7 separate regions of the Homo sapiens genome follow, and regions 1, 2, 3, 4, 5 and 6 are each linked to region 7. Evidence: promoter capture Hi-C in 16 types of primary human blood cells and fetal thymus (Javierre and others, 2016). All regions are on one chromosome and are shown on one strand. The core of a region is centred on a gene start or on the middle of the fragment in contact, and the rest is flanking DNA. Distances in the headings are between cores, read along the strand shown. Region 1 has its middle 8.9 kb from the start of CRADD. Region 2 overlaps WASHC3 (WASH complex subunit 3). Region 3 overlaps CEP83 (centrosomal protein 83). Region 4 overlaps PARPBP (PARP1 binding protein). Region 5 overlaps NDUFA12 (NADH:ubiquinone oxidoreductase subunit A12). Region 6 holds the start of NDUFA12 (NADH:ubiquinone oxidoreductase subunit A12). Region 7 holds the start of SLC25A3 (solute carrier family 25 member 3).

Evidence for each region. Contacts are between HindIII fragments. The CHiCAGO score rates a contact against its expected background, and 5 or more counts as called.
Region 1: a contact is called between a fragment that was not itself captured here and the fragment with the promoter of SLC25A3 in region 7, in 1 of 17 cell types (non-activated CD4 T cells). The highest score is 9.6, in non-activated CD4 T cells.
Region 2: a contact is called between a fragment that was not itself captured here and the fragment with the promoter of SLC25A3 in region 7, in 3 of 17 cell types (naive CD8 T cells, total CD4 T cells and activated CD4 T cells). The highest score is 10.0, in naive CD8 T cells.
Region 3: a contact is called between a fragment that was not itself captured here and the fragment with the promoter of SLC25A3 in region 7, in 2 of 17 cell types (non-activated CD4 T cells and naive CD8 T cells). The highest score is 9.2, in non-activated CD4 T cells.
Region 4: a contact is called between a fragment that was not itself captured here and the fragment with the promoter of SLC25A3 in region 7, in 2 of 17 cell types (non-activated CD4 T cells and naive CD8 T cells). The highest score is 8.5, in non-activated CD4 T cells.
Region 5: a fragment that was not itself captured here is called in contact with the fragment with the promoter of SLC25A3 in region 7 in 1 of 17 cell types (total CD4 T cells); the score reaches 8.7 in total CD4 T cells.
Region 6: a contact is called between a fragment that was not itself captured here and the fragment with the promoter of SLC25A3 in region 7, in 3 of 17 cell types (naive CD8 T cells, non-activated CD4 T cells and activated CD4 T cells). The highest score is 7.4, in naive CD8 T cells.

The regions. Positions count from the first base shown.
Region 1 is chr12:93,667,110-93,669,809 of GRCh38, reverse strand. No RefSeq gene overlaps it. Among named protein-coding and RNA genes, the nearest start is that of CRADD, 8.9 kb to the left of the region's middle. The HindIII fragment of the contact is 1,126 bases long and covers 696-1,821 here.
Region 2 is chr12:102,055,769-102,058,468 of GRCh38, reverse strand. All of the region lies in intron 2 of WASHC3 (WASH complex subunit 3), which reads left to right. Among named protein-coding and RNA genes, the nearest start is that of WASHC3, 4.9 kb to the left of the region's middle. The HindIII fragment of the contact is 2,843 bases long and covers 1-2,700 here.
Region 3 is chr12:94,455,842-94,458,541 of GRCh38, reverse strand. All of the region lies in intron 1 of CEP83 (centrosomal protein 83), which reads left to right. Among named protein-coding and RNA genes, the nearest start is that of CEP83, 2.7 kb to the left of the region's middle. RefSeq lists a silencer at 2,598-2,700. The HindIII fragment of the contact is 573 bases long and covers 1,070-1,642 here.
Region 4 is chr12:102,122,323-102,125,022 of GRCh38, reverse strand. PARPBP (PARP1 binding protein) reads right to left here. Exons shown (of 11, transcript NM_017915.5): 2 at 982-1,137. The coding sequence starts at 1,134. Among named protein-coding and RNA genes, the nearest start is that of PARPBP, 3.5 kb to the right of the region's middle. The HindIII fragment of the contact is 1,013 bases long and covers 909-1,921 here.
Region 5 is chr12:94,985,278-94,987,977 of GRCh38, reverse strand. All of the region lies in intron 3 of NDUFA12 (NADH:ubiquinone oxidoreductase subunit A12), which reads left to right. Among named protein-coding and RNA genes, the nearest start is that of NDUFA12, 17 kb to the left of the region's middle. The HindIII fragment of the contact is 617 bases long and covers 999-1,615 here.
Region 6 is chr12:95,001,333-95,004,032 of GRCh38, reverse strand. It overlaps NDUFA12 (NADH:ubiquinone oxidoreductase subunit A12), which reads left to right and starts at 336. Exons shown (of 4, transcript NM_018838.5): 1 at 336-438; 2 at 1,212-1,294. The coding sequence starts at 353. RefSeq lists enhancers at 214-613, 78-705. The HindIII fragment of the contact is 6,573 bases long and covers 1-2,700 here.
Region 7 is chr12:98,592,276-98,594,975 of GRCh38, reverse strand. SLC25A3 (solute carrier family 25 member 3) reads right to left here and starts at 1,290. Exons shown (of 8, transcript NM_002635.4): 1 at 1,236-1,290; 2 at 841-1,001. The coding sequence starts at 997. RefSeq lists enhancers at 251-875, 1,199-1,298, 876-1,500, 1,549-1,768. The HindIII fragment of the contact is 3,126 bases long and covers 1-1,990 here.

The DNA of each region.
Region 1 (2,700 bases), core at 9-2,508, 4.9 Mb after region 7:
CCCCCATGCTGCTGTTCTCATGATAGTGAGTGAGTTATCACGAGATTTGGTTGTTTAAAAGTGTGTGGCACCTACCCCACACCCCTTGCTTCTGCTCAGGCCACATAAGATGTGCCTCTTTCCCCTTCGCCTTCTGCCATGATTGTAAGTTTCCTGAGGCCTCCCCAGAAGCTGAGCAGATGCCAGCATCATGCTTCCTTAGCAGCCTGTGCAACTGTGAGCCAATTAAACCTCTTTTCTTTATGCGTTACCCAGTCTCAGGTGTTTCTTTATAGCAGTGCAAGAACTCCTAGTGGCCTAAGAACATCAGATATGTGGAAGGAAAAGGAAACATACTCTTCTTTAAACTTTTGAGTGGTTTGTACTCCATCCCTAATTTAGACCGCTTTTTCTTGGGGCAGAAAATTAATTTTCCATTTTTTAGTCTCTACCCGACTCATCTGGTACTATGCACACAGCATGTGCTCAGTAAATGTTTGACCAACAACATGACTGTGCTATTGATTTCCTTTTACATACAGTGCCTAGCAGTAGGCAGTCAAAAATGTGGGTCAAAGAATGACTAGTGTATTACAATCCGACTTATTTCTGATTCCCATTCATGTATACTAAAGAATGTGAAAAGGCCAGAATTTCCTATCAATTTATTTCCATGTGGGTAATTCTATGAGGACTGTATTTTATTACTGTAAGCTTTTGTTATGAGTCATAGATACCTGAAAATGTAAGAATATACCAGGAACCTCTTCTCTTTTTTAACTCCCATTGTCGAGAAGTGAGAGTGTGCTCTTTCCCCTAACCATTCTCATCCCGCCCACTCCATTAAATATTATCTAAAGGCAAAAATCCCCCAAATGTTTCGCTATGACCTTGTGTATCCAGTTGTCTACTTGACACCTCCACTGGAGTTCAATAGGCACTTCAAACTTAATCTTTCCCAAACCAGACTCCTGATCCTCTCACTCCCAATTTACTCTACTCAGCCTGCTCCACTTCTGTAAATGGTACCACCATCCACTCAAGTCAAAGACTTCAGGGCTCCTCCTTAATTCCTCTCTGTCCCTCACACCTACTGTCCGACCCATCAATAAGTACTATTGCTCTTCCTCTACATCATCCCCTAACCCATTCGCCTCTCTCCATCCTAACCACCTCTACTCTCTTCTACATCATATCTTGCTTGGACCCCGGAACTTTGCTTCATCTTTTCATCCATAGAGAGGCCTTCCTTGAACACCCAATCTAAAATTGCTCCCCAGAGTCTATCACATTGCCTAATTTCATGTTTTTCTTAGCATTTATCATTACCAGTTAATTTTCTTATTTGTTTGTTTTTTTATTGGGAAGGAGGATATTTTCTGTCACTCCCCATTAAAATGCACGTCCATAAGAGTAGGGACTCTTAATGTCTTGTTTGCTTCTGCATTTCCAGTGTTTATTTATAATAGAGTTTGACACATAATAGGTGCTCAATAAATAGTCATTGAATTAAGAAATTAATGAATCAATTAGTGAATAAGCCTAATGTGTATTTGAACGTGAAAGATGAGCAGAATGCAGAACAACACAGTTTTTATGTAAGTAATAGATTCATTGAGACTAAATTTAAATTATCCAATTTCCTTTGACAGCTCCCACCCTAATATTTTTTAGTTAACAATCATTGAACATTTATTACATGCCAGAAACTGGACATTTTTTCACATATTAGCTCACTGAATTTAATTCCATCCTTGTACAGCCTTATAAAGTAACTATAACTAGTTAAGTGGCAAAGCCAGGATTCAAATAAAAGTCAGGCTTATTCCAGAGTCCCAAGCTTTTTATTACCATATTAATATGAATGTTCCTTTCAGATTGGCCAGATTCCCTAGAACACTCATCCAGCAAAGTAAGGTCAGGGCAGCTTAGCCTCAATGTAGAGCCCCATGGCTCTCCCCTAAAAGGCTGCAGCATTTGTGTGGTTTCCTTTGAGAGCACATGGACATCAAAGCTTGGCTATACAAGAGCATTCTTCCCATGACGCATATGCTGTGAGCACAGCAAGACATTAGCCAAAACAGCATTTCTTCAGTTAGTTAATTAATAAATATCTGAGTGTCCTGCTGAACCTGTACAATGATTATTACACATTTTCTAAGATTCAGGCCTCCAAAGTTGATACTTGACAAAATTTTCTTTTTACATACAGAAGGATTGGGTTCTTGTAAGGATCAAGTGAGCTAGTATATATGATATCTCTTTGAAAAAAATACAAACTATTACATAGAATGTGCACCATAATATAATCACAGAATTCTGGAAATGGAAAAGAACTAAGAAATGGCACCTAATTTTATGAAAGGGAACAGTGAGGCACAGAGAGGTAAAGTGACTTGTGGTTGAGGGGCTAGTAGCCTATAGAATGAAATTACATTGTTTACCAAATTCAATTTTCTTTCTTTTTTTTTTTTTGTTTGAGACGGATTCTTGCTCTGTTGCCCAGGCTGGAATGCAATGGCACAATCTCAGCTCACTGAAACCTCCGCCTCCCTGGTTGAAGCAATTCTCCCACCTCAGCCTCCCAAGTAGCTGGGACTACAGGTATGCACCACCACGCCTGGCTGATTTTTTTTTTTTTTTTTTTTTTAGTAGAGACCGGGTTTCACCACGTTGGCCAGACTGCTCTCGAACTCCTGACCTCAAGTGATCCACCCGTCT
Region 2 (2,700 bases), core at 150-2,649, 3.5 Mb before region 7:
TAAAAAATAATTTAAAATCCAGATTCTACAAACTTCTTAGTGTGATGTAATCCCATTTATTTATTTTTGGTTTTGTTACCAGTGCTTTGGGGTTTATATCCAAAAAAAGTCATTGCCCAGACCAATGTCGTGCAACTTTCCCCTTATGTTTTCTTCTAGTAGTTTTACAGTTTCAGGTCTTACATTTAAATCTTGAATCCTTTTCGTGTTAAATTTTTTTATATGGTAAAGGATGAGGGTCTAATTTCATTCTGCATGTGGATATCCAGTTGTCCCAAAATGATTTATTGAGACTGTTATTCTTAACATCTGTGAAAAGTATGTTTCTGTAACTGTCTTTTCTGTGTTCTTAACATCTTTCTCAAAAATCAATTGACTTTAAATGCATGGATTTATTTCTGGGCTCTTTATTCTGTTTCCTTGGTCTATGGCTGTTTTGATTACTGTAGCTTTGTGGTAGATTTTCAAATCAGAGAGTGTGATCTCTCTGGCTTTGTTTTTTTGGCTTAATATTGCATTGCCTGTTCAGGGTCTTTTGTGGTTCAGTATGAATTTTAGGATTTTTTTTTCTATTACTGTGAAAATATTATTGGAAAATTGATAGGGATTGCATTGAGTCTGTAGATTGCTTTGAGTGGTGTCAACCTTGTAACAACATTCATGTTTCCAATCCATGAACACACGTTATCTTTCCATTTATTTGTGTCTTCTTCAATTTTTTTCATCAATGTGTTATAGTTTTCAGTGTACAGATCTTTCACCTCACTGGTTAAATTTACCCCTATGTATTTTTTTTGTAGCTATTGTAAATGAGATTTTTTTTCTTTTTTTTCAGATAGTTTACTTTTAGTGTATAGAAATGCTACTGATTTTTGTATGTTGATTTTATATCCTGCAGCTTTACCAAAGTAGTTTGTTAGTTCTAACAATTTTTTGGTGGAATTTTTTATAAGATTTTCAATATATAAGAGCATGCCATCTGCGAACAGAAACAATTTCATTTCCTTTTTTCCAATTTCAATGCCTTTTATTTTTCCCTCTTGTCTAATTACTATAGCTAGGACTTCTAGTACTATGTTGAATAGAAGGGGTAAGAGTGAATATCCTTGTCTTGTCCCTCATCTTAGAGGAAAAACTTTCAGTTTTCACCATTGCGTATGATGCTAGCTGTGGGCTTGTCATAAATGGCCTTCATTGTGTTGAGCTAGATTCTTTCTATACCTAATTTGTTGAGAGTTTTTATCATCAAAGGATGTTGAATTTTGTCAAATGCCTTTGTTCCATCTATTGAGATGATCATACGGTTTTTGTCTTTCATTCTGTTAATGTGATGTATCACCTTTACTGATTTGCATATGTTGAACCATCCTTGTATCCCAGGGATAAATCTGACTTGATCCTGGTGAATGACCTTTTTAATGCGCTGTTGTATTCAGCTTGCCAGTATTTTGTAGAGGATTTTTGCTTCTATGTTCACTGGGGATATTGACCTTTGATTTTCTTTTCTTGTAGTGGATTTGTCTGGCTTTGGAATCAGGATAATGCTGGCCTCCTAAATTGAGTTCGAAAGTTTCCCCTCCTCTTCAGTATTTTGGAAGAGTTTGAGAAGGATTTGTATTAGTTCTTCTTTAAATGTTTGGTAGAATTCAGTAGTGAAGGCATCAAGTCCTGGGGGTTTTGTTTAGTGGGAGACTTAACTACTGATTTGATCTCTCTACTTATTATTGGTCTGTTCAGATTACCTATTTCTTTATGATTTAGTCTTGATAGGTTGTATGTGTCTAGGAACTTATCCATTCTAGGTTATCCAATCTGTTGGCATATAATTGGTCATAGCAATCTCTTATGAGCCTTCATATTTCTTTTGTTTTAATTGTAAAGTCATGTTTATTGGAGTATGAACTTATATGCAGTAAAATTTACCATTAAGTATGAGATTGGACAAATGCATAATCATACCATAATCAAGATGTAGAATAGTTGTAGAACAAGATATAGAATCACTCCAAAAATTCCCTCATGCTCCTTTGCAGTCACCCCTTTTTTATCCCTAGGAATGCATTGTTCTGTTTTCTGTCAAAAGGGCCAAATTTAATCACTGCAATGGTCTCCAGTACTGTGGAAAAATTCCTGAGCATACAAAACACACAAACCAAGTTTTTAAAAAATGAGATACTTTTAAAAATGTCTTTAGCATATCAACCAAATGAAGGTAGCTTCATATTTTACTACAGATGCTCAGATATCTTAGGCAGAATTAAGTCCACCATTGCCATATATATGCCTCAACAGTAATATTTAAGAGTAGACTGTAAAAATAAACTTACAATCTTTAGAATCGTCAAAACAATGGGATTATTAAATGACCTTTGTAAGTTAAAGCAAAGTTTATAAAGTTGTCTTACATAGTTGTGAAATAGCTAGTCTAGTTAGATAGAATTAACGTCTCCTAAAACTGACCTGCTTGAAGAACTACTGTAGGTCATGTCTTTGTAGGTAGAGTATGTGAACGAAGATTAAGTACTTGCTCTTTTGTGTTAACACTGTGTCAAGTTTCAGACTGGGGCTGGTTGATAGAAAAACTAGTTAAAAAAAACTATTTTAAATAATGGAATTGAATTTTATGGAAATTCTCTGTGGCACCAACTCAACCACAGGACAGAAACAAAAAATTCTCATCTAAACATTCCTGTAGAAAAT
Region 3 (2,700 bases), core at 107-2,606, 4.1 Mb after region 7:
GTCTCAAACTCCCGACCTCAGGTGATCCGCCCACCTCGGCCTCCCAAAGTGCTGGGATTACAGGTGTGAGCCACCGCACCAGGCCAGAATGCTTTAAATTATAAGTGTCACACAGGACTCTCCTGAGAGTTGCAAATGGTTTTGAGTTGTCCTTTGGTTATTTAGGACAGAGTATGCTGGGTATTCCCCTTACTTTGAGTGTTTTCTTTCCAGATCAGATGAAGTGCGCGGACTGTATTTAGAACATTCTCAAATAATAGTGAAATACAATTTAGAATTCCATGCAGCACTGGGAGAATGAAACACTGATTATTCACAGGTAGTTTTTTTTTTTTTCTTTTTTTGAGACAGAGTTTCATTCTTGTCGCTCAGGCTGGAGTGCAGTGGTGGGATCTCAGCTCACTGCAACTTCCGCCTCCCAGTTTCAAGTGATTCTCTCCTCTCAGCCTCCCGAGTAGCTGGGGTTACAGGTGCATGCCACCATGCCCTGCTAATTTTTGTATTTTTAGTAGAGATGGGGTTTCACCATATTGCCCAGGCTGGTCACGAACTCCTGACTTCAGGCGATCTGCCCACCTTGACCTCCCAAAGTGCTGGGATTACAGGTGTGAGCCAGCGTGCCTGGCCTATTCACAGGTAGTTTTTAATCCTTGGTTTACCAGTCACCTCACTGTCTCCTCTTATTGAACCCTTAATGATAAAATTTTTATGGCAAGTTGTTAGTTTTTAGAGCACTTTTTGAATGATCTTTTCAATCAATAACCTTTCAAGTAAGCAAGTATGTGAGAAAATTTGAGACATGATGAGACTAAATGACTTCTTTGAAATCTATTAATAATGGGAATTGGAACTTGAAGTTTAATGTTCTTTATGTCAGATACCCTTATGTATTGCTAAAATCCATGGACTTAATTTTAGTTCTCTCCTCCTTTTTTCTATATGCTGATGTTGAAGTAATGAAATATTCAAAAGTTGGGCAAGATGGAGGAGACAAATCAAGAATGACTCGTATAATCCTTAGTAATCAGAAATCAGCATTATGTCATGGGATGTTCTAATTCAAGAAGCTTAGAGTGAAATCTTAACAGAAAGATTAGTGAATTTTAGTGAATTGTCAGAATTTCCCCACCCCCAGGTACTGTCTCTTTGCCTAAAAGTAGATGAGCTTGCTTTTAATTTTGTCATACATATTAGGTTCCATAAGTAAATTGCCCACATTGTTTAACCTATGTGCTTTTAGGGAATGTGTGTAAATCTGTGTAAAAAACTTCCTTTTAACCCAAGTTCATGTTTCTTGACTTAAGGTGAATTATTTGAAATCCTCTCACCTTGCCTTTTCAAGTGTATGTTCTTTATGGAAAAGGTGTCTCTGCCCAGATTGGTTTCTTCACTATCCCCTAAACCTGCTCTGTACTTTATCCTTTCCATATTAGTCTGCATATCTTTCTATCCCCCGTGACCTGATCTTATTCCCTTCTTTCTTAAAATCTAAATTGTACCTTTTCTATAAGGTTCAACTCCACCATGACCTCATACATACATACATAGGAATAGTATGTATTTGTGAGTTAAATTTATTTGATACTTATACTTTTTATTGTATTATTTTAGCTTTCTTGACTTCCTAACTAGATTGTAAGCTTATTAAGGGCAGGACTTCAGATCTCGATGAGCTGTATCCTTAGTCTTTTCCAAATACAAGTTGCTGAATAAATGTTTCTTAAAGATGACTGATATGATTAGGCTTTGTGTCCCCACCCAAATCTCACCTTGAATTATAATCCCCATAATCCCCATGTGTCAGGGAAGAGACCAGGTGGAGGGAATTGGATCATGGCGGCGGTTTCCCCCATACTGTTCCTCGTGACAGTGAGTTCTCATGAGATCTGGTGGTTTTATAAGTGTTTGGTAGTTCCTCCTGCATTCATTCTCCTTCCTGCTACCTTGTGAAGAAGGTGCCTTGCTTCCCCTTCACCTTCTGCCATGATTGTAAGTTTTCTGACGCCTCTCCAGCCATGTGGAACTGTGAATCAATTAAACCTCTTTCCTTTATAAATTACCCAATCTCAGGCAGTTCTTTATAGCAATATGAAAATGGACTAATACAATGACAGATAGGCATTTCTACTTTCCCCCACTTTTGTAAGTATCATGAAAGTAAGGTTGTTGAGAGAAGAGAGTAAGTGAAGGGGAAATGGCAACAGTAAACTATAAAAAAGATTGAAGAGTGGGAATTCACGGAATCAGAAATAAAGATTCTGTTCCTAGAAAGTGAGTATTTGAGAATTTCCCATGGCAATACCAGCAGTAAGGACTCTCAGGAATGCTGGCACTATTCTTCAGTGGGCTTGGGGAGTTTGGTCAATTTCCTGGTTCCTAGTAGAATATCAGTTTATTAATTATATTTTTTTCATCAGGACTGCCCTCTCTAGGTCATGGAGAGATCACTGACTGTCAAGTCTAGTACTATTTCTTTTTTCTTTTTTTTTTTTTTGAGATGGAGTTTTGCTCTGTCGCCCAGGCTGGAGCGTAGTGGTGCAATCTTTGTTCACTGCAACCTTGAACTCGTGGGTTCACGTGATTCTCCTGCCTCAGCCTCCCAAGTGGCTGGGGCTAACAGGTGCATGCCACCACACCTGGCTTTTTTTTTGTATTTTGAATAGAGACAGGGTTTCACCACATTGGCCAGGCTGGTCTCGG
Region 4 (2,700 bases), core at 166-2,665, 3.5 Mb before region 7:
ACACTATCCCTGTTTTAAGATTTTATACTTTTTAATTTTTAAGTGTTAAAATATTCTTCCTTTTTCAAAATGATGATCATAGTATATAGTAACTATTTTTTCTCAATGGCCTTATTTGCAAAAATGAGAAATGGTTAAAATCTGTCAGTGTCTAATAATTTTTTAGAAATTTTACTGTCTATGGAATCTAAAAATCTGGAAACTACTGACATATAAAATTAAAATAACTCATCAGAATGTCATTTCAATATCTAGCCCAACAGACCCATTGAAGCTAATTCTACCCTTCAAAAATCCTCTTCTCTAGTCAAGCCAGTATCTTTGCCAAGTTCATACCATGACTTTGATTCCCCTGAACCCTTCTTCTGAACTGACTTTCCTCATCATACCTCCTCTACAGCCTTCTCTTCCTTTATCTAAAATCTATCTAATATCACAAAGCCTTTCCTTACCACTCTATCCTACATTCATCCTTCTCTCATCTGAACACCTCTAACCCTTAATCTACGGCTTAAATCCAAACGCTAGTTTGGCTCAAGCTACCTAAGTAAGAATCACTTTGTGGAAATTTTTTAAAGGCAGTTTCCAGTATCCCGGTGCAGATTGGAAGAATTTCCAGGATTGGGGTACAAGAGCCAGTAGTTTTTAAAAGTTTAGGGAATGAAAAAAGTCTTATTAAATAAAAATAATTTGACCACAATAATAATAGTTACATGTTTATCCTAAATCTTCCTATTAAACATCAAATATGCATGTCCCGTGTATAACCATACATAAGAGCTTAATTTTGAAATAATTCATTTCAAATTCTATCATAACATTCTGACACAGATACACAGAGGCATTTGTGAAAATGGTGTATTATCACAGAAGGGCACATAATGTAAAGAAATTAATATTCTTAAGCTTAAGTTTATTCAAATGGGCAGCAATGAAATTTTGCTTTAAAAAAACAAGTTAACCCAAATATAGTTTACCAACCTGTTTGTTGTTCTCCGCCATAGAAAGCTGCAATGCCAAGAGCATGGAGTCTGCACCACATAGAGTAGTTCTCTCAGAGTTACAAAGAGCACGCCAATTTTTTCGAAACTCTTTAATCATATCCGAGACAGACTTCTGATTAAACACAGCCATTATCTTAAAGTAGGACAGAATACAAAGTTAAAGTATCTTATGTTAACCTGAAATTAACATTTAACATGTATAGGCAAGCACAGATAGAGAAAAACATATAGTGAATGAGAGGTCATTTCATATTTACCAAGATTGCTTTTAATTAAATTTAGGAAAACAAAATAATACAATTTCTGCGCAATCATATTTCCCTCCCCTTTGGTTTCTTAAGCCAAACCTTCTGAAAGAACAAAATGTAGCCTTCAATTCTGAAAATTCACACAAAAACAGACATGCAAATTTACTGCAAACTTATAATTACAAATATACCTAATTAAAGCTGTATTTAAATATATATATTTGTTTTGAGATAGGTAATAAGTCTGATAAATTGGGAAAAAAAAAAAAAAACCTAAAAAGCCAATTTCCTCCCATCCTACGTTGTCCCAAAAGAGGTGGCCTATTTTTCTACCCTTTTGAATCTGGACCAGGCTTGTGACTTGATTTAACCAATAGAATGTGGCAAGAATGACGCTGTGGGAGTTCTGAGCTTAGGCCTTAAGTGGTGTGTGCAGAAGTACTAATACAATAGGCCTGAATGCTCTCCTTTGAAGCTGGAGTCCAGTTTGGGAGCTTAGATTTCAGGAGTGTTTCCAGTAAGAGTGGTTCACTGTGCTAAACTGTTCATACAAACAATATAGTTTATGCTAAACACTTGCGAGTCTGGAATTTTGGTACATGTCAGACAGTGGATGCCTTTGCATTTAGCCCCCAATAAAAACCCTGGGCATTAAGTCTCTAATAAGCTTCCCTGGTAGACATTTCACATGTGTTGTCACCACCTATTACAACAGGAGGAATTGTGTCCTGTATGACCACTAGAGTATCACCAAGCAGTGTCCCACCCAAACTGCTGATCCACAGAATCAGAAGGAAATGGTTATTTTAAAACCTTAACTTTTGAAATGGTTTGTTACACCGTACTACATAACCAATAAAATAACTAATATTTAGGAGCTAACTTGGTGGAGATACTTTTCAAAAGCTTAATATTGATTACCTCACTCGACTGTCATAAGTGTCCAATAAGACAGGTCTGTTATTATCCTTATTTTACCTAATAACCTCCACGTCACTCAGCTTGTAAGTGGACAAACAGCATAAACTTAATATGTCTAACTCTATAAGCTGTGTTCTTAAAGCATCATGTTAAGTAACTTCTCCTGATGCACACAAAAGCCTTTCAAAATAATTTGAGGTAGTGCCAATGTTTCATATACCCAAGACTATATAAGGCATCCAATTCCTTTCTCTGAGTTTACAGACATGCCTGCTAAAAGTTTTTTTCCTACTTTAAGTACTCAAGTCTCAACATACTCACATGCCCATCATCTTATTTTGGGTATTTTCCTGTACTTATTCCATTTCCTGACTCCTTCTGCTATCCTTTTCTTCTATTTTTATGTGGCATAAACAGAATCCTAGATGTTTACTTTGGTTTGTATAATCAAGAGCAAAGATACATGCCACTTGCAATATAATTAAATTATAGACACAATCTATGATGCAACTTAAAGATACAGGTAG
Region 5 (2,700 bases), core at 58-2,557, 3.6 Mb after region 7:
AACGTTTGTGCAGATTTCCCTTGACCTCAATTTCCTGTCCTTGATGTAGAATGATAGTTTCCTTCTGGTATAGGGAGGATATCTTTGATGTGGGAATTTTTTCTCCTGCTTTCAGAAAGAAAAAGGCCATATTATTCTTGTGCCTGCTGTTTTTCTTTACCTTTTTTTTTTTTTTTTTTTTTTTTTGAGACAATGTCCTGCCCTGTCACCCAGGCTGGAGTGCAGTGGTACAGTCTGCAGCCTCGACCTCCTGGGCTCAAATGATCCTCCTATCTCAGCCTCCCAAGTAGGTGGGATTACAGGCATGTGCCACTACACCTGGCGAATTTTTGTATTTTAAGTAGAGACGGGGTTTCATCATGTTGGCCAGGCTGGTCTTGAACTCCTGGCCTCAAGTGATCTGCCTACCTTGGCCTCCCAAAGTGCTGAGATTACAGGCATGAGCCACCACACCCAGCCGTGCCTGCTGTTGTTCAAGTGCCTTTAACTCAGCATAGTCCATATGCCAGAGCTGCATATTTTGGAGCAGCGTGTTCTGAACTTCAGCCACTCAGGTTTCGTCAGTTGTCCCAACAGTGTCCTTTATAGAGAGATCCAATCACACATTTCATATGGATCTCAAGTTCTTTAGTCTCCTTCACACTTGATTGGTTCCTCAACTTTTCTGTGATTTTCATGACCTTGACGCTTTTGAAAATTACTTGACAGTTATATTGTTGAAGGTCCCTCAGTGAGTTTGTTGAATGTTTCCTCATGACTAGGTTCAGGCTATGCTTCTGTGACATTCCTGTCACTGAAGCCATGTTTTTCTTGTTGCACTCTATTAAGTAGCAGCTGATTTGTTTTTGTCCTATTATTAATGAAAACCTCTATCACGTGATTAAGGGGTCTGCCGGTTTTCTCCATTCTAAAGTTACTAATTTTCCCTTTGAAATTAATTAGCATTTTGTGGGGAGACACTTTGAGGTTATGTAAGTATCCCCTTACTCATCAAAGCTTTAATTCATTATTTGTATCTGTATCAACTCCTATTTTAATCAATGGGTTATAATCCATTGCTTTAAATGGTTCTTTTATTGTTCAAATTGGGCTCAATTTGACTAGTTGGAACCCATTCAAGCTGCATTTGGAGTTCTTTGGAGGTTTTTAGAGGGGAGGGGTTCTCAGTTTTTAAAAATATTTTATTTGAGATAGGGTCTCACTCTGTCGCCCAGGCTGAGTGCACTGGTGCTTTCACAGCTCACTCCAGCCTCAACCTCCTGGGCTTAAGCCATCCTCCTGCCTCAGCCTCCCAAGTAGCTGGGACTACAGGGGTGCATCACCACAACCTGCTGGTTTTTTTTTAGGAGATAGGGGTCTCACAGTGTTGCCCAGGCTAAAATTTTATTTTTAATTGACAAATAATAATTGTATATATTTGTGGGGTACAATATGATGTTTTGATACATGTTTACATTGTGGAATGATTAAATCAAGCCAATTAGTAAATCAATTACCTCACATACTTATCATTTTTTTGTGGTAAAAACACTTAAAATTATTTTAGCAATTTCCAAATATACAGTGAATTATTATTTATTACAGTCACCATTCTGTGCAGTAGAGCACTAAAGCTTAGTCCTCCTAACTGAAATTTTGTACTCTTTTATCAACATCTCCTCTTTCTTATACTCTCCACTCCTCCTGCCCGTGGTAACCACCATTCTACTCTGCTTGTTTTTCTTTTTTTTTCTTTTGAAGACAGGGTCTTGTTCTGTCTCCCAGGCTGGAGTTCAGTGGCACATTAATAGCCCACTACAGCTTCAATATGCTGTGCTCAAGCGATCTTCCCAACTCAGCCTCCTGAGTAGCTGAGACTAGCTTATTTATTTATTTATTTATTTATTTATTTAGAGACAGAGTTATGCTCTTGTCGCCCAGACTGGGATGCAGTGACGTGATCCCAGCTCACCGCAACCTCTGCCTCCCGGGTTCAAGCGATTCTCCTGCCTCAGCCTCCTGAGTAGCTAGGATTACAGGTGCACACCACCATGCCCAGCTAACTTTTGTATTTTTAGTAGAGACGGGGTTTCACCATATTGGCCAGGCTGGTCTCAAATTCCTGACCTCAGGTGATCTGTCCACCTCGGCCTCCCAGAGTGCTGGGATTACAGGTGTGAGCCACTGTGCCTGGCCTATTTTTATTTTTAGTAGAAGTGAGCTCTTGCTATGTTGCACAGTCTGATCTGGTTTCCCTGATGATTAGTGACAATGAGCATTTTTTTCATATAGCTGTTGACCATTTGTATGTCTTCTGAGAAATGTCTGGGTACTTTGTCCCTGCCAACCGCTTTTTTTTTTTTTTTTTTTTTGAGATGGAGTCTTGTTCTGTCTCCCAGGCTGGAGTGCAGTGGCGTGATCTCAGCTCACTGCAAGCTCCACCTCCCAGGTTCACGTCATTCTCCTGCCTCAGCCTCCTGAGTAGCTGGGACTACAGGCGCTGACCACCATGCCCAGCTAAATTTTTTGTATTTTTTTAGTAGAGACGAGGTTTCACCATGTTAGCCAGGATTGTGTTGATCTCCTGACCTCGTGATCCACCCACCTCGGCCTCCCAACGTGCTGGGATTACAGGCGTGAGCCACTGCGCCCGGCCTACCAACCACTTTTTTTAAAGATAGGGTCTCGCTATGTTGCCCAGGCAAAAGTACAGTGGTGTGA
Region 6 (2,700 bases), core at 1-2,500, 3.6 Mb after region 7:
CGCCCACCAGAGCCAATTATTTTTAGATGAGGAAACTGAAATTCCCAAAGGGGGAATCCCCGTGTGAGAAAGCCTCGTGTAGGTGAGCTTTCCAGCATATGCCCGCCTTCTAGATTTAACCTCTGAAAACTAAATTTTAAGGTACCTTTGCTTCCAGGGGAAACCAATTCTGCCTACTTGGGAAGCCAGAACATGACCGCGTAGGCAAGACCTAGCTCTGCGCACGCGCAGAGCCACCACGTCTGGCGTTCGCGTGAGAACCTTCTGGGCGTGGGCTTCCTGCGGCTGAGTGGCAGCTTCCATCCGGTGGGTTTTGCTCGGCGCACCCGGGAGGCGGGGCCAGCGAGGCAAGATGGAGTTAGTGCAGGTCCTGAAACGCGGGCTGCAGCAGATCACCGGCCACGGCGGTCTCCGAGGCTATCTACGGGTTTTTTTCAGGTAGGCGGCCAGAGCCATGCTCTTGGCCTCTGGGGCTGGACTTTCGCTGGCTGATTTCTTGGAAGGGGTCCCAGGCTCGGGTCACCTTGGAGAATCCACAGCTCTTGTCAAGGACAACCGCCCCAATCTCTGCCTTGCCACCCCCAGGCTGGTCTCTGTCCCATATATCCCCGATACAAGACCGAAGCTATCTGTAGAGTCAGAGCTGTGACTCGGAGGCAAGGGCATCTGGGCTCCCCTCTTTTCCCACGCCCTGGAGAGTAATGAGGATTACAAGACATTAACTCAGTGACCCTGGTAAAGTTTTTTTCCCTGCACTGCCGTACAGTTCCTTGTCTGTAAGGCGTTGAAGGTAATAATGATGGTCCCTTCTCTTCCTGACATTCACTGATCCCACGAGCAGCATAGTTTCGCAGAAACCTAAATGGAGACCCAGAGTGGAATGAAAGAGCCTGGAGACCTTCGTATCATTGTAAGAAGATGAAATACTTTGGCTTTTTGATTTCCTAAAGGTTTTGCTAATTCCAGTGCCTCCTGGCTGAGGGATAGTAGATACAAGTAGTCCTGTAATCTGAAGAGACTACATTTATATTTTTAGTGTAATTTGAGCACATCAGTTGTCAATTCATCTTTTCCCATCCCCAGCACTTCTTCATTTTGCTAGTTGATGCAGCAGCCCTTGTGTCTGAAAGTTGTTACTCTCACTTTATTTCCGTTTATGTTTTGAACTAAGAATCATTCTAAAATGTCTGTTTTCTTTTGGGTATTCACAGGACAAATGATGCGAAGGTTGGTACATTAGTGGGGGAAGACAAATATGGAAACAAATACTATGAAGACAACAAGCAATTTTTTGGTGAGTGCAGTATTTTTTAGTATGAATAATTGGATTGGGATTGGGATTTGATTTGAGTCTATTTTCCATATTATGCAATGAGCTTTTACAAAACACCTGGAAAAGGATGAAAAACTCAATAGAAAATGAAAAAAGATAATTTACAGAAAAAAGAAAAGTAAACAGCCAATGAAGGTATGGAAAAATGCTCATTCTCACTTGTAACAACAGAAATGCAACTTTAAAAACAGTGTTATATATTTTTCACCTATCAAATTTTGAAGTGTTTTTGTTCTTTTTTTTTTTTTTTTTTTTTTTTTTTGAGATGGAGTCTCTGTCGGCCAGGCTGGAGTGCAGTAGCGCGATCTCGGCTCACTGCAACCTCCACCTCCTGGGTTCCAGCGATTCTCCTGCCTCAGCCTGCCTGAGTAGTTGGGACCACAGGCGGGCGCCACCATGGCCGGCTAATTTTTGTATTTTTTAGTAGAGATGGGGTTTCACCATATTGGCCAGGCTGGTCTTGAACTCCTGACCTCGTGATCCACCCGCCTTGGCCCCCCAAAGTGCTGGGATTACAGGCGTGAGCCACTGCGTCCAGCCTTGAGTATTTTTCAAGCTGATAAATCCCAATGTGGGCAAAACCATATAAATATGTAGGTTAATGCAGTCTTTTTGGAGGGATAATTTGGTAACATTTGTAAAAATTTACATTGCACATATCCTTTGTCTCAGCACTTCCACTTTTAACAATTAATTCGGCTGGGCGCGGTGGCTCACGCCTGTAATCCCAGCACTTTGGGAGGCGGAGGCGGGCGGATCACGAGGTCAGGAGATCGAGAGCATCCTGCCCAACGTGGTGAAACCCAGTCGCTACTAAAAATACAAAAATTAGCTGGATGTGGTGGCGTGTGCCTGTAATCCCAGCTACCTGAGAGGCTGAAGCAGGAGAATCGCTTGAACCAGGGAGTCGGAAGTTGCAGTGAGCCCAGATCCCGCCACTCTACTCCAGTCTGGCAACAGAGCGAGACTCTTATCTCAAAAAAGAATTAATTCTACAAATATTCTTGCAAACCAACATACATCACAGCATTGTTTTATTATATTTTAAAAATTTATTTATTTATTTAATGTTGAGACAGGGTCTCGCTCTGTCACCCAGTCTAGAGTGCAGTGACTCGATCATGGCTCACTACAGCCTCAACTTTCTGGGCTCAAGCTGTCCTCCTACCTCAGCCACCCAAGTAGCTGGGATTACAGGCATGTGTCACCATGCCTGGCTAATTGTTTAAAAAAATTTTTTTTTGGAGAGACGAGGTCTTGCTATGTTTCTTAGGCTGGTCTTGAATTCCTGGGCTCAGGTGATCCTCCCACCTCAGCCTCCCAAAGTGCTGGAATTACAGATGTGAGTCACTGTGCCTGGCCACAGC
Region 7 (2,700 bases), core at 41-2,540:
ACATTTAATACACAAATAATGTTAGCTTTAACTTTTAAACTGAACGACAGATAGTGTAAATAAGGACTCTATCCATACTAAAGACAACAGAAGCACATGAATGATTTAAAGAAAAAAATCTTTCGATTTTACAGGCACAAGGTAGATAACATTCTTAGGACTCCTACAATTCGGTTTTCAGGTTTCTCTGTATGTACATACTTCACTAGGATTTAAAACACACACAACTAAGTTAAAGCTGGGCCCAACCACCAAGAATCCCAAGAGATAATCACACCAAAGGGACGCCCACCAATTATCTCCTTTCTATTGCCTATGTAGGGCTGCAAGCTGCCTCCTCCAGTCGCACGAAAACAGGACATCTAGTTATCTCATATACAATTAAGTGCAAAAATGACTGACCTGGCGTCGACAAATATAAAACTTAGGAAAGGACTATTTTTAAGAAAACTAAGGGCAAATCAAAGGACAGGTAATATAGTTAGTAGAACTGTGGGTGGTCAGTAGTTTCGGGAGGAGAGTTTACCCAGTACTTAGTTTGCTGACCAAGCGAGCTCACGGCGGAGAAAGAGCTAGTCACGGCCTCTCTTCCCTCGGGCACACGGAGGTCACGAAGGGACACAGGGCCTCAGCGCTTCCACGCCCTTGAGGGAAGGCCAAGGATCTGACACCCGCCTATGGTGGAAAAGGCCGATACCCCAGGGCAAGCAACTGGGCGCCGTCCTACGGTGCAGCGGGCTGGACTCGTCCTTCCCTGTCCTCCAAGCCGGGTCCAGGCCTCAAAGGCTGGGCGGCCCACAAGTAGACCACACGACTGTATTGGGCAGGGTCTGATCTCACCTTCCACGGCGGCGGCTGCCAGGTTGCGAGGGCGGCGGGGCTGGCCCGTGGGCCCTGGGGAGCTGCTGCGGAGGTCCCCGAGACCATCGTGCACCAGCTGCAGATGTGGCGTGTTGAAGGGGTTCGCCCGCGCCAGGTGCGCCACGGACGAGAACATCTTTCTAGGGGAGGAGGGAGCGACGGTTAGAGGACAGGCAAGGCGCCGGTTAACGTTACCGGCGCCCTGGAACCCCAACCGGGGCCTTTTCCTTCCCGTCTCCACGCCCTTGAAGAGGTCACGGCGGCCTTCGAAAGAGGCTGCTCCCGGCTGGGCCCACCGCCAAAGCAGCGGCCCCACAGGAGCTCTGGGCTCCGCTCCCCACACCCGCCACAGGAGAAGGCCCGGCCACACTCACTCCCTAAGATGGCGATCACACAACCACTCCCTTGGAAAGGTTGCGGCTCACAGAGGCCGGACGTCCTCCGGGTCCTAAGATGTGTGCCCTTCGCGCGTCGTCGGCGTGACGCACACAGCGCGCCACTGCAAGTACGCGTCGCCCATTGGTGGAGAAGAGCGCCGAGCCCGTAGCGTCATCGCGTTCTCCTAGCAACCTTATTCCCGCCCCTGCCCGCCCCAGCTCTTCCGCCCGGCTTGTGCGCGGGAGGATTCGTTCTGCGCAGGCGCGCGTTCCGGGTCTATATTTTTTGAGAGGGGTCGGGCTCGAGCTCTTACCCTGCTCGCTTTGTCCCTTCACCTTCAGGTGTCTCTCCTTGACCACGGGCTTCAGTTCGCTTCACTTAAGTGAATCACAGTATCTAGTAGTCACTTAAAAAACAAAACAAAACGCGAATGCTTGATAATATATTTAGGTGTTGGAGTTACAACATCACTGCAGTACTTTGTGTCACAACTTCTGCCATTACAGTACTTTTTAAAATAAGTTCCATCCATTGACATTAAACATAGGTATGTCTGTATTTTTCATCAGACTCCTGGAGAATATTTTAAAAAGAAATGTGCAGCAAGAAGTCTTACGACAGCTTGCCGCGTTATCACAGTAATCTACAGAACACGTTGAAACATTGAACTCCTGAGATGTTACAGCGATGAACTACTGAAAGTGACTGATAGCAGATTGTGCGTGTGTGTGGTTAATACATTTAGGAAGCTTTCATTAGATTCAGCTCAACAGGGAGGGGCGTAGTTTAGTTGGGGAGAGTTTAATAGGGATTCAACCTGTTAGACTTCTGACTCTTATATTTTCCAAGCTCTTGACAAAGTAACCTTGGGAATTTACTTCATCTCTGTGTACCTGTTCCCTAGATGTAAGATAGGGGTGGGACTGGCCTCATAGGTTCACACTGGTACAGTCACACATGGCCTTACACTTCATTTAATGCTCTGCTGTCATTTTGATTTTTTTTTTTTTTCTTTTGAGATGGAGTCTTGCTCTGTCGCCCAGGCTGGAGTGCAGTGGGGCGATCTCAGCTCACCGCAACCTCCGCCTCCCGGGTTCAAGCGATTCTCCTGTCTCAGCCCCCGGAGTAGCTGGGACTACAGGCGTGCACAACCACGCCCGGCTAAGTTTTCTATTTTTAGTAGAGACAGAGTTTCGTCACGTTGGCCAGTCTGGTCTCGAACTCCTGAGCTCAGGTGATCCGCCCACCTCGGCCTCCCAATGTGCTGGGATTACAGGCCTGAGCCACCATGCCCGGCTTGAAATTCTTAATACATGTATGAACAAGGGGCCACGCTTTTTTTAGTTTGCACTGGACCCTGCAAATCAGGTGTCTGGTTCTGGATGGGAGTAATACTTACCTTGCAGAGTCTATGAGAACTCAATGAGATAATGTCTAAAAGTCTACAGAAGATGTTACCTA